Linked DNA regions of Homo sapiens: region 2 is linked to region 1. The links are contacts of gene promoters, found by promoter capture Hi-C in human tissues and cell types (Jung and others, 2019). All regions are on one chromosome and are shown on one strand. Each heading gives the region's core, a stretch centred on a gene start or on the middle of the fragment in contact. The rest is flanking DNA. Distances are from core to core; before and after follow the strand shown. Region 1 holds the start of PODXL (podocalyxin like). Region 2 has its middle 120 kb from the start of PODXL.

Region 1 (6,222 bases), core at 2,761-5,260:
AGATGAATTAAACACTGCTTCGACCCACAAGGAACTCAGAGGTCAGTGATTAGAAAGCCCAGGTAAGAGCATCCCTGGCTCCTTATGTGTAGGAGCTGTGGCTCCAGGATGGATACATGTGTGCACTCATCTTTTCTTGGGGGATGTGGTAGCGGACGCTTTGTCTCACCCCTAGATGTTGTGACTGGGGATCAGTATTACTTAGAATGAGGGTCAAGAGGACTTACTGAGTCTGCACATAAGGATGCACTTAGGTAAACAACATCACCAAATTGCACCTGGGGCAGAGAATTATGGCCCCTAACATTGACAGCCAGGGGCCATGGAAAAATGTGTAACCTTGTGCCATGGGTTCCTGCGTAATATCTTCCAGGTGACATTCATATTTGCATTCAAGATCTGTATCTATAGATCTGTATCTGTATCTATATGTATGATGTTGTAACTGAGGGAAAGGCCCAAACTGGGCTTGCTCTGTTGATAACAAAATGTCACGTTGCTCCAGCATAAGCAATAGAAAATAGTTGGAACTCTAACAACAACCCCAAAACAATGAATTCTCCCTTGGAACTAAAAAGACTAAGAGACTTGATGGGAATCCGAATGCCAGAACTCTCTCAGAAGCCAGACGTACAATGGCTTGGAAGATGTGGGGCTAAAAGTCCGCCTCAACATACCTTTCTGTAAATGGTCAAATTTAAAGCCCTCCAATCAGATTCTGCCAAGCCAACATTCCTAAATCTTTTCATTGCCTTCTGATCCCATAAATTTACCCCAGGCCTCAAACTGGGGAGACATTTTTTCTTTTTTTTTTTTTTGAGATGGAGTCTTGCTCTGTTGCCCAGGCTGCAGTGCAGTGGTGCAATCTCAGCTCACTGCAGCCTACACCTCCCAGGTTCAAGCAATTCTCCTGCCTCAGCCTCCTGAGTAGCTAGGATTACAGACGCATGCCACCAAGCCTGGCTAATTTTTGTATTTTTAGTAGAGATGGGGTTTCACCATGTTGGCCAGGCTGGTCTCAAACTCCTGACTTCAGGTGATCTGCCCACCTCAGCCTCCCAAAGTTGTGGGATTACAGGCATGAGTCACCGTGCCTGGCTGGGGAGACAGATTTGAATTCACTCCTGTCTCTTTGCTGACCAGTTTTGCAAATAAAGCCGCTGCTTTTTCCAAAGCTAGTGCTTCATAGTATTGGCTTCTGTGCCCATGGGGCAGCAAAACCATTTGCTTGATAAAAATGCGGTGGCTCTCGCCAGTAATCCCAGCACTTTGGGAGGCCGAGGCGGGCAGATCACCTGAGGTCGGGAGTTCGAGACCAGCCTGACCAACATGGAGAAACCCCGTCTCTACTAAAAATACAAAATTAGCCGGGTGTGGTGGCAGATGCCTGTAATCCTAGCTACTTAGGAGGCTGAGGCAGGAGAATTGCTTGAACCTGGGAGGCGGAGGCAGCCTGGGCAACAGGAGCAAGACTCTGTCTCAAAAAAAAAAAAAAAAAAAAAAAAGTGATGTGCTGTTCTTGGTGGTCTGAGTAAGTAAAGGATGAATAAGAAAGACGCCATGTTAAAGAAGCTGAATGTCTGCTAGGAGAGCTAACGCATGTATACAAATAACCAAAATGCAACAAATCCCAGAAGGAATGATCCTGCAGAAACTTCCTGATGAAAAGCTTCAAAAACAGCACCCATAAAGTGCTTTGGGTTTCAAATATAAGCTCAGGTGTTCTGGGCTGGCGAGCTTGCTAGTTAGAGCACAATGCTAAATGGGGCCAAAGGCACAGGCCAGTTACCTGGGGGTAGCTCATCTCAGTGGCCACCAGTGACCTCAAAACCCAGCCAGCCTCATTCCAGAAAGCCACGTTGTGCATAAGTTGAGGGGGGCTGTTGGATACTGGGGAGAGTCCAGCACAATTGTAACTTTTCTATGTCTTCTCTAAGCCCAGATGTCTGCTCTCATTTTAATTTTGCATGATCTTGTAATGGCACCAATCCCAAATCATGTGAATTTAAAATGCCCTAAGCTTCAAAATATACGCTCTCTCTTTATAAAGTTAACATGATTGCTTCTGAGTTTTTAGATAAATTGAATGATTGAGTGCAAAAACACTGTTTAAATCAGAGTGCGATACACATTTTTTAAAATCCCAGTGTAAAAAAAAATATATATATATATTGCTTGGTTTCAGAAGAGAAACAAGCCTTTTGTTGACATGATATCAGGGGAACAGTACTAAAAAAACATCAAAGATAGTCACACACACAAATATCCCAGAGTATTCATAGGGAACACCCTCTGTCTTTCCCATATGCGGTGTGGAAAACGGGGCCAGAACGATCCTGCAGAAACTTCCTGATGAAAACAACCCCGTCAGCCCTTCCCAAGCTTGAGGCCGGCTGCCACGGAACCCCAGCCAGGGCTCCAGCGCTTCCTTCGCGGCTCCAGGGACGCAGTGCCCTGCAGGCATCGCCTGCTTGCAGCCGACTTGAGGGGCTCACGGAGTCCCCTGTGCCCGGGACGCGGCTAGATCCTGGAGAAAACCCCTCCACCCAGCCCCATCTGGCAGATAGACTCCAGATTAGCAACCCCGGAGTCACGTGAGCCAAATTTACGCCGTACCCGGGTTCCAAGGTTAATCACCCCTCGCCCCCTCCGCTTCCCGGCTCCGCCGATGTGCCTCCTCTTCAGGCGGGCCTGGGGTCTGCGTCTCCCAGGCAGCTTTGGGGGTGGAAAAAAGGAGGGGAGCGGGGGAGGGGAAAGGAACTTCTTTGTTCTTTCACCGGATAAACTCAGTTTACGGAATTCTCCAACACCCACTCCCACCCCCAGTGTGCAAATATCTCTGATCCTCACTTGGAGGGCGAACTACTTCATTCATTGAGACTTTTGTGTTCCTGGCCCTAGGCTAAGTATTATCTTGTAAGATCACATTTAAGTTTCCCAACAACCCCCTGAGGTAGGTGTTATTATCCCTATTTTACAGATAAAAAGAAATGAGGTACTGAGAATAGCTTGCCTAGGGTTTTACAATTAATAGATTGGCACAGTTAGGTTTTGAGCCCCAGCCTGTTTTGACCCAAAAGCCCTAATCTTTATAGCTGTTCTTTATATAGCAGGAATAAGAGTAATAACCACTCCTTGCAGAGCAATTACTATATTCCAGGCACGGTGCACGGTATTTCTCCAAACTTCTCTCAGAGGCAGGTTTGCCACTTACCCGTTATGTGGCCTCAGGAAGTTTCTTAACCTCTTTTTGACTCAATTGCCCTGTCTGCAAAATGAGGCTAAAAATATGGTTGTCATGAAGAGTAAAAGAATTAATATATGTAAAGCCTGGCACACATTCATCCCTGAAATTGTTGTTGCTGTTGTTTTTTAACCATCATCTCCATTTCACAGGTAAGGAACCTACCCTTGGAGAGGTGAAGGAGTGAATTAGTCCAGCTTGCCCGCTGCACACCTAGCTGCAGAGAGACCCCGCTCAGAAGCCGTGCGGGATGGGGGCCCCACAGGCAGGTGAATTGCACTTGGCAGGTGGGAGATGAGCTTCTCCGGGGTCGCTGCAGAACGCGCAGCAGCCCGGGAGGCCGTGAATGGTTATCAGTTACCACGCAAGGCTGGGGGTCCGCCCGCTCCGGATTTGCTCGTAGTGCGAGGGCCCCGGCGGTGTGCTGGGGGATCCCGCCGGGCCCACTTAGAAGCACTCGGGGGGACACACCTGTTCGGGACACCTGTGGACGGGGCCCGGCTGCACCGCAGGAGCCCCCCGCCCTGGCCCCCGCGCACACACAGCCCCCCAAGGCGCGGAGGCCGCCGGCCCTCCCGCCCGTCGCGCTCCAGGGCGGAGTTTCCTCCTCTGCTCATTGTTCACGGCCCAGCGCCCGCCCAGCCCCGGCCCCGGCCCCGCCCGGCCCGGCCGCCGCCGCTGGCGGGCTCCTGGGGGAGGGGGAGGGGCGGGGGCGGGGGCGGGGGCCGGCGCTGACGGGACGGGCCAGGAGTAGCCGCAGCCGCCAGTGGGGCCGCAGCCGCGCAGACGCCGCCCAGGACGCAGCCGCCGCCGCCGCCGCTCCTCTGCCACTGGCTCTGCGCCCCAGCCCGGCTCTGCTGCAGCGGCAGGGAGGAAGAGCCGCCGCAGCGCGACTCGGGAGCCCCGGGCCACAGCCTGGCCTCCGGAGCCACCCACAGGCCTCCCCGGGCGGCGCCCACGCTCCTACCGCCCGGACGCGCGGATCCTCCGCCGGCACCGCAGCCACCTGCTCCCGGCCCAGAGGCGACGACACGATGCGCTGCGCGCTGGCGCTCTCGGCGCTGCTGCTACTGTTGTCAACGCCGCCGCTGCTGCCGTCGTCGCCGTCGCCGTCGCCGTCGCCCTCCCAGAATGGTGAGTGGCCGGCCTGGGTTCCGCCGGGACTCCCACCGTGCCCATGTGCCCCCTGCCCGGCCGAGCTGCAGGGAAGCCCGGCGCGCCGCGTGGTCCGACCCCGAGCAGCCCTATCACCGCCGGGGTCACACACGGAGCCCTGACCTTGCACCATCCACGCCCCCTCCAAACTCCGCAGCGCGGCAGGTGCAGGGCCTGGGCGTAGATTCGTCTCCACTCTCCACTCGGGAGGAGTGGGCGGTGGATTCTGCCCGGGCAAACAGGGGCGCGCCGGTGCTAAGTGGGTTTGCATGGGAAAGAAAAGGGAGACCGCACCGCGAGGCTCCACGCTTCTGCGGGACTCTCGGGATCTGATTACACCTTTCCTTCGTGTTGGAGGGAATGAGGGGCTGTAGTGTGTATTCGTTAATTCCAGGCAAAGAGGCAGGCGAGAGGCTCCCGAGGAAGTCCCTGAAGCAGGTGACAAGCCTCCAGCCACGGCCCACGCGGGCGATGTACTTACCCGTTTGCAGAGGTTTTTTCTAAGTAATGTGTGCAGGCTCAACTCCTTGAGCCCGTGCTGGGGCAGGTACAGAGTCGTAAGTGGACCTTCCACAGTCCCAGAGTCACCTGGCTGAGTGGGGGTCCTACCTCCGTGTCCCTAAAACAATCGCTTCTTAGTGCGTGGCTACGATGGTGAGACCCCCCTCGAATCCTCTTGTTCAAACGGGAACTTGTTCAAACGGGAACTTCTCTCTCGTAGAATAGGATTGGGCTGCATTTTAGACACACCTTAGAAAATGTACCTGTCTCTCATGAAACACCTGCACCTCAGAAACATCCCCTCCCTGTTTCTTTTCAAGGTGAAATGTTACTCTTTCCCTTTTGGGGGACAGGCGATGGCTGCAAACTCAACCAGAACAGGTGTTCTTAAGCCCCTAGGGAACAGCCAGAGTCAGCTCAGCCCCACGGGAGAGGTGCATTTCTCATTCTCTTTTGCCCACCTGAGCACATGTCTGCAGGAAGAGCTGAGGTGGTGTGATCACCCTAGGGCCAGGAGGACTGCGGGGACAGCACAGACAGGGTAGGGATTCTGCTGTGAGCAGGTGCCGGCAGTTTGGGACTGGACTCTAAGGGGCCAGGGGAGATGGAAGGGCAGTACAGTCTCTCCTCTGCACCGCAGGAAACCTTTGGTAGTGGGCAGGCGCTGGCACTCAGGGAGCAGGCAGGCGTGGGCATCCTCCTGTGGCCGGCGGGAGACTCCACCAGCCTGACTAGAAAGGGAAGGTCCCGGCGGGGGGAAGAATGTGTGTCCCTGGAAGAGGGGCTGCAGTGTGAGGAACAGTCAGAACAGCTTTCAGAGTGGCAATCACTGAAGAGCCACACGACATGCAGGGTTGAGATGACACGAGAGTATGGTGGCTCCTTAGCCCTACTCTGGGGACAGCTGGACTTCAGGGTGGGCCTTCATACGAACCTTTTGTTGGGAAGCCTCTTAGAACCACCCAGAAGGGCGTTGGGCTGTGTCAGGAAAGAGGGGTTAGTCCCTAGTGCTTCTGAGCTTAAGGAAGCTGAGCCACCCTTCCTTTGAGGAGTGGGAGGCACTGTGGGACAAGACCCTCCCTGTCTGCCCTAAAAGGAAATGTTCATAAGTCACCAGTGGGCAAAGCTCTGACTCCAGCTCACTGCTGGCTTCAAGGATGGCACTGTTTTTCCTGGCACCTGGGCACTGCCAGAAACCATGTCTCTTCCATGAAGCACCACTTCTGGCCTAACACAGGGTTTGGCACATGGCAGAAGTTTGGTATGTGGCAAACAAAAATGACCATAACCCAGTGCCTGCTCTAACCAGCAAGTAACTTGGC
Region 2 (6,222 bases), core at 2,784-5,283, 120 kb before region 1:
AAACTAACACAAGAACAGAAAACCAAACACCACATGTTGTCACTGATAAGTGGGAGTTGAACAATGAGAACACATGGACACAGGGAGGGGAACATCACACACCAGGACCTGTTGGTGGGTGAGGGGCTAGGGGAGGGATAGCATTAGGAGAAATACCTAGATGATGGGTTGATGGGTGCAGCAAACCACCATGGCACCTGTATAACTGCACAAACCTGCACATCCTGTAACAAACCTGCACATCCTGCACATGTATCCCAGAACTTAAAGTATAATTTAAAAAAAAAAAAAAGTGGCTGGGTGCGGTGGCTCATGCCTGTAATCCCAGCACTTTGGGAGGCCGAGGCAGGTGGATCACCTGAGATCAGGAGTTTGAGACCAGCCTGGCCAACATGGTGAAACCCTGTCTGTACTAAAAAATACAAAAATTGGCTGGACGACGTGGCTCACGCTTTTAATCCCAGCACTTTGGGAGGCTGAGGCGGGCGGATTTTGAGGTCAGGAGATCGAGACCATCCTGGCTAATATGGTGAAATCCCGTCTCTACTAAAAACACAAATAATTAGCTGGGCATAGTGGCGCACGCCTGTAGTCCCAGCTACTTGGGAGGCTGAGGCAAGAGAATTGCTTGAACCCAGGAGGCGGAGGTTGCAGTGAGCCAAGATCGCACCACTGCACTCCAGCCTGGGAGACAAGAGTGAAACTCTGTCTCAAAAAAAAAGAAATAATTAAAAGTGTAAAGGGAACACACATCATGAAAGAAGAATGAGCTATTTGGGGAACGATCCCAAAGAAAACTCAGGCCCAAATGATGGGAAGTGCCTTTATACTGCCTTCTGTCTGGCAACTGTCAGGATCTTTAGTGAGATAGGACCCCCAAAGGTCTAGAGAATGTCCAGCCAGGCAAGTGGCAAGTGGCAAGTGGCAAGCCAGACTGCTGCAAACCTTTCTGTGCTGTGCATGCACCAAGCTGCATCAAAGTGATGCTTCCAGGAGGGCTGCATCACCCTGCACCTTGGAGCAAAGCCCAGTTTAGCCAAACGACCCTTCAGCAGACCCTTCCTAGAGTTACCTCTGTTGTTTGCAGAGTTAATATGAAAATCAGTTGGTGTTGTATTGCCTTGCTTTTAAGATCAACTGTGGGCTGGACGCAGTGGCTCACGCCTGTAATTCCAACATTTTGGGAAGCCGAGGCAGGCAGATCACTTGAGGTCAGGAGTTCGAGACCTGCCTGGCCAACATGGTGAGACACCGTCTCTACTAAAAATACAAAAATTAACTGCGCCTGCTAGCATGTGCCTGTAATCCCAGCTACTCGGGAGGCTGAGGCAGGAGAATCGCTTGAACTCAGGAGGTAGAGGATCATGACACTGCACTCCAGCCTGGGCGATAGAGCGAGACTCCGTCTCCAAAAACAAAAGGATCAATTGTGGGGTGGGGGCACAGATCAGTTTTCTGCAGAGAGCCATGGTGCTAAGCCAGAAAGATACACCAAGACTTGGGAAACTGTTCTGCAGTGCAGAGTCTGCAGAGAACAAGTATAGACTCACTGGATGGTCAGACAGGAAGGGATCTTGGGCATCATCTTCCTAAACCTTTGTTTTCCATAAAAGGAAACAGAGGCTCAGAAAGGAGAAGTAATTTTCACTAGGCTGTACCCCAAGTTTGTGAAAGAGATGAGGCTCAGACTTGGTATCTCCAGCCCTGAACCTGCAGCAGAGCTGGCTGAGAGCAAGCCTGTGTGAGTGGCCCGGCCTGCCCAAACTGCCCTTTCTGTTTCCTCTCTTGGATGGAGCCCCTCCTCCTCCATCCACAGCCTTCTAAGAGCGGGGCACAATCGGGTGTGTGTAAGATGGGCAGGAGGCAGGATGGGTTTCCCCTATTAGTTGACATAATTACCCTGCATGGGAGTAGAATAATATGAGAATTTTATTTTTGTGTGTTGATGTGGTTTGGTTGTGTCCTCACCCAAATCTCACCTTGAATGGTAATAATTCCCATGTGTCAAGGGTGGAGCCAGGTGGAGATAATTGAATTACGGGGGATGGTTTCCCTGATACTGTTCTTGTGGTAGTGAATAAGTCTCAGGAGATCTGATGGCTGTATAAAGGGCAGTTCCCCTGCATATGCTCCCTTGCCTGCCACCATGTAAGACGTGAAGTTGCTTTTCCTTTGTCTTCCGCCATGACTGTGAGGCCTCCCCAGCCCTGTGTAACTGTAAAGTCCATTAAATCTCTTTTTCTTTATAAATTACCCAGTCTCCGGTATTTCTTCAGAGCAGTATGAAAATGGACTAATGCAAATATACTGTCTTCAGAGAATATCAAATTCTGCTTATAAGACTTTACTTCAGGTTGCATTGTAATAAAATAATCTCTAATGGTAAAACTTTAAACAGGTGCATCCTAAGAACAAGAAAAGACAAGGAAGAGATACAAGCACCCTCCTCCATGCCTCAGCCCAAACTTAGGCCACCCCATCTAGCCTCTCAGTGAGCTAGCTCTAGTACAAAAACCCAAAAGGGAAGACTGGAAAGGGAAGAAAAGGACTAATCCATGCCTAGGAGGAGAAGCACCAGCCAGACAGCCTGCAGCAAGCCCACAGAAGATCTGGAAAAGAGCAAGGCTAATTTAGGCTTGGAACGTGACCCAGAGCCACCAGAAGCAGCTGTCACCCTGCTTATCCCCCTCCCCCCTGCCTATCATTCACTCCCCCGGGTCCTTGCAAAAACCTACTGCCTGTACGACAGGACCTGTTGGCTCCTAAGTGAGGGAGCAGCTCCTCTTCCCTTGGTGATGCCTCTGTGTGGGCTCTCTAACCAACCATATGTTTGAGCATGCCACACAGCCCTGCAAAAAAAAGACAGTAAGGCTTGTTCCTTGGGGACCCTGGTGTCAGTGAGGGTGAAACTTCCCGCCTGAGGAAGGAGGTGAATGTGAACTGCCCCATCCTACACAAATGATCTGGGGACAGCAGAGGAGACTCCACTGAACCCTTAGGTCAATTAGCCCAAAATTAAATTTAAAGAGCAATGACATGGAAATGAAGGACGGTCATTCCATTAAGAAGAGCAGATGTGGCACTGTGGTTAGGAGCATGGCCTCTGGTGTCCGATAGACTTGGACTGTCTCTCAGTCCAGGCTGCCACTTTCTGTTCATGTGACTTCATGTAAATTACTCAGCTCTCCAAACTCCAGGTTCCTTATCTATAAAACAGCATAATAACTGCTACCCCAAGGAGTTACTGGGAGGATTAAAAGAGATAGTGCATTAAAAGTACCCAGTTCTGTGTCTGCATGTGGTAGGTGCCTGATAAATGTTACTTCCTTTCTTCACCCTGGGCCAGATACCAGTGAAGATACGAAGAATAAAAAATGGTGATTGCAGAGAAAAGTTATGTACCAAGGGAAAACCCTGAAGACCCACATGAGGATGGGACCAGACAGGTCAAAAAGAAGGAAGAGCAACAGGGCTGAAAAAATCTTACCTCATTTACCTCATTTCATTCTAGGACTCCAGAGTCTTGGAGTTTCAGAGATCCCCTGTCTTCTCTTCCCCTCAAACCCTTTTTTCCACCCAGGCATGTCTGTCTGTGTCTTTCTGCGAACTGATCTACCCAGGTGCCAAGACCTACGCCAGCCAAGCAAGAAGCTCCTGGCCCAGAAGTTGGTTGACTTAGCCTCTGCTCCATCCCTGCTGGGGATCCCCTTACCTTGTACCAAAACCATTGCCTGAATCCTGACACCTGTTTGCCCAAGCCCTTAGTCTGAGCCCCTGATGCGTCTTTTGTTCTCCAGGCTCCAAGTGTGCATTCCAGGCAGCTCTCAGCTGACCTGGCCTGGGACCTCTTTGACCAGACCTTGGACACTCATTTCTCCCTGTCTCAGCTGACCTCTCTGATTTCTGACCTGCCAGGTTTTCAGTCTTCATCCTATCTGCCTAGATTCTCACTCTTCTTCCCTCCTTGACAGGTCTATCCCATTCTTGCCTGAGACCCAGGATAACAAGTAGCAACTCAAAGGCCAACTGGAATCCAGTGATGACCATTGCGGGGTAGGAGTTTAAGAAAAGAAAAGCTCTGAGTTCTCTCTCCTGTAAGGAATAGCACTGGCTGAAGCAATTACTCTGGAAGACAATTTGGCAATATCTAGGAAAGCCAAGGATGTGCACATCCCATCACTCAGAAGATTCGTTTGTATTGGTCAGGGTAGACTAGGACAGTGATACTGCAGTTAAAAACAACTCACAGGCCAGGCGCGGTGGCTCATGCCTGTAATCCCAGCATTTTGTGAGGCCGAGGTAGGCAGATCACGAGGTCAGGAGATCGAGAACATCCTGGCTAACATGGTGAAACCCCGTCTCTACTAAAAATACAAAAAAAAAAAAAAATAGCCAAGCATGGTGGTGCGTGCCTATAATCCCAGCTACTTGGGAGGCTGAGGCAGGAGAATCTCTTGAACCCAGGAGGCGGAGGTTGCAGTGAGCCGAGATCACATGCCACTGCACTCCAGCCTAGGCGACAGAGCAAGACTCCATCTCAAACAAACAAACAAACAAAAAACTCACAAATAATCAACAGTGTAAGACAACGAAGGTTTATTTCTGCCTCATGCTGCTCGTCTCTCACAGCTCAGCTGGAGTGTCTGTTTCACACTGTCCTCACGCGGGGACACAGGCTGATGGAGGCTCATTTTCTGCAACTTCAACGGTGACCATAGTAGGGAGAAGAAAAGGGCAAGTTGCATACAGGCTCTGGGAGGCTTCAAATGCTCACATTCATTGGCCAAAGTAAGTCATACGGATGCTTCTATTTTCAAGGGCATGGAGAAATGCAACCCAAGGCACTCACCATGGGTTTCCCAGACAGCAAGCTGGTTAGTACTGGGGAGATTTTCCCTCTTCCCAGCTAGTGAGGCAGTGTCCAGCTCATCTTCCTGCACTGGTATCTTCTTCCTCCCCCATCAGAGATGACTGTAACATCCCACAAGGCTCAAGGTCCTTAGACAAATCTGATAAGCCCAGCACCCCAAATCCAGATGGCCTAGCACCAAGCATCTTTTGTCTTTCCCCTAATAAAGCCACACTCTTATACTTTCCCTACAGAAAGGGACACTACAGTGTAGAAGAAGCTTTCCACTGGAATGAACCCCCAGCCCTGAGGGCAGGTGGTCTGGCCCTGGCATCACCGAGAAAGACTGCATGCATCAAGCCTTGCTAGCCCTGGTCTTGTGATTTTGTCCTTTTATAAAGTAGCACCTATTTCTTTATGCATGTCTTGTGACATTGTAGAATTCATTCAACCCTTTGCATGACCAATGTCAGACCTGAGCAACCCATCTAGCACAATAGGTAAGAAGAGAATCAGAAATACTGGTGAAGAGCAATAATGACTCACACAGTCTAACCTTATTCAAAACCCAATATTTGGTCTACTCTTATTCCTGGATGCAAATATACTCTTCCTTTCTCAAAGGAGATAACTCAAAGGCTCCATACCAACATAGCATCAAGCTCAAACCCCAAGATATCAAATTTTCACAGTAATTTTTACATCAAAGTGACGAGTAGTTATCTCTAGATCTTGGGTCAATATCTCTTTATTAGAAGACTAAAAAGATAAGCTGCTTTGCCAATGTACCAATATTTAATATTGAAATATGGGACAAAAAAATGGCAGTAAACACTCCCATTCAGAAAAGAGAATAATGGGTTACAGCAATTCTGAAATCTCAGAGCATTCTTCCCCAGGGATAAAGTGTATTCTTGATTAGGTCTTGACTCCATCTCCTGGAACATTCTCTGCAGGCCTGAGCTTACCCTTCAAGAGATATCCCTTTTCCACCATCTTTGGCCAAAATTGCAGGGAAACCCAGAAGATATGCCTTCCTTATGGGCAGAGCATCCTCCTAAGCACATTTTCCGGAGGACCCAAAAGTTGAAAGTTGTTTTAAGATTCAAATGAAGTCTAGATGAGGCCAATGGTTCTTTGGCAGCATGTGTAATTTTCTCAAAACTCTCAGTTTCTTATCATTTGATTCCAGGCAATGCCAGGGGTCAAGCTTCCTTTATAAATAAATCTCCTGTTAACTGTATTTCTTTACTTTCTTTCTCCCATGCCACTCTAGATTTAATTGAAGGTATTTTGGTCCACACCATTAATCTTTTTCCCTGTTACATTTTGTCTAATTGCTAGAACAGGGAACATTACTAAAAGATGCCTTA

The links. Contacts are between HindIII fragments. The study calls those that stand out against the background at their distance.
Region 2: a contact is called between a fragment that was not itself captured here and the fragment with the promoter of PODXL in region 1, in 6 of the 25 tissues and cell types used here (IMR-90 fibroblasts, aorta, bladder and 3 more).

The regions. Positions count from the first base shown.
Region 1 is chr7:131,554,416-131,560,637 of GRCh38, reverse strand. PODXL (podocalyxin like) reads left to right here and starts at 4,010. Exons shown (of 9, transcript NM_001018111.3): 1 at 4,010-4,378. The coding sequence starts at 4,279. RefSeq lists an enhancer at 3,075-3,622 and silencers at 3,590-3,709, 3,740-3,799, 3,880-4,389. The HindIII fragment of the contact is 6,040 bases long and covers 2,202-6,222 here.
Region 2 is chr7:131,670,772-131,676,993 of GRCh38, reverse strand. No RefSeq gene overlaps it. Among named protein-coding and RNA genes, the nearest start is that of PODXL, 120 kb to the right of the region's middle. The HindIII fragment of the contact is 6,509 bases long and covers 779-6,222 here.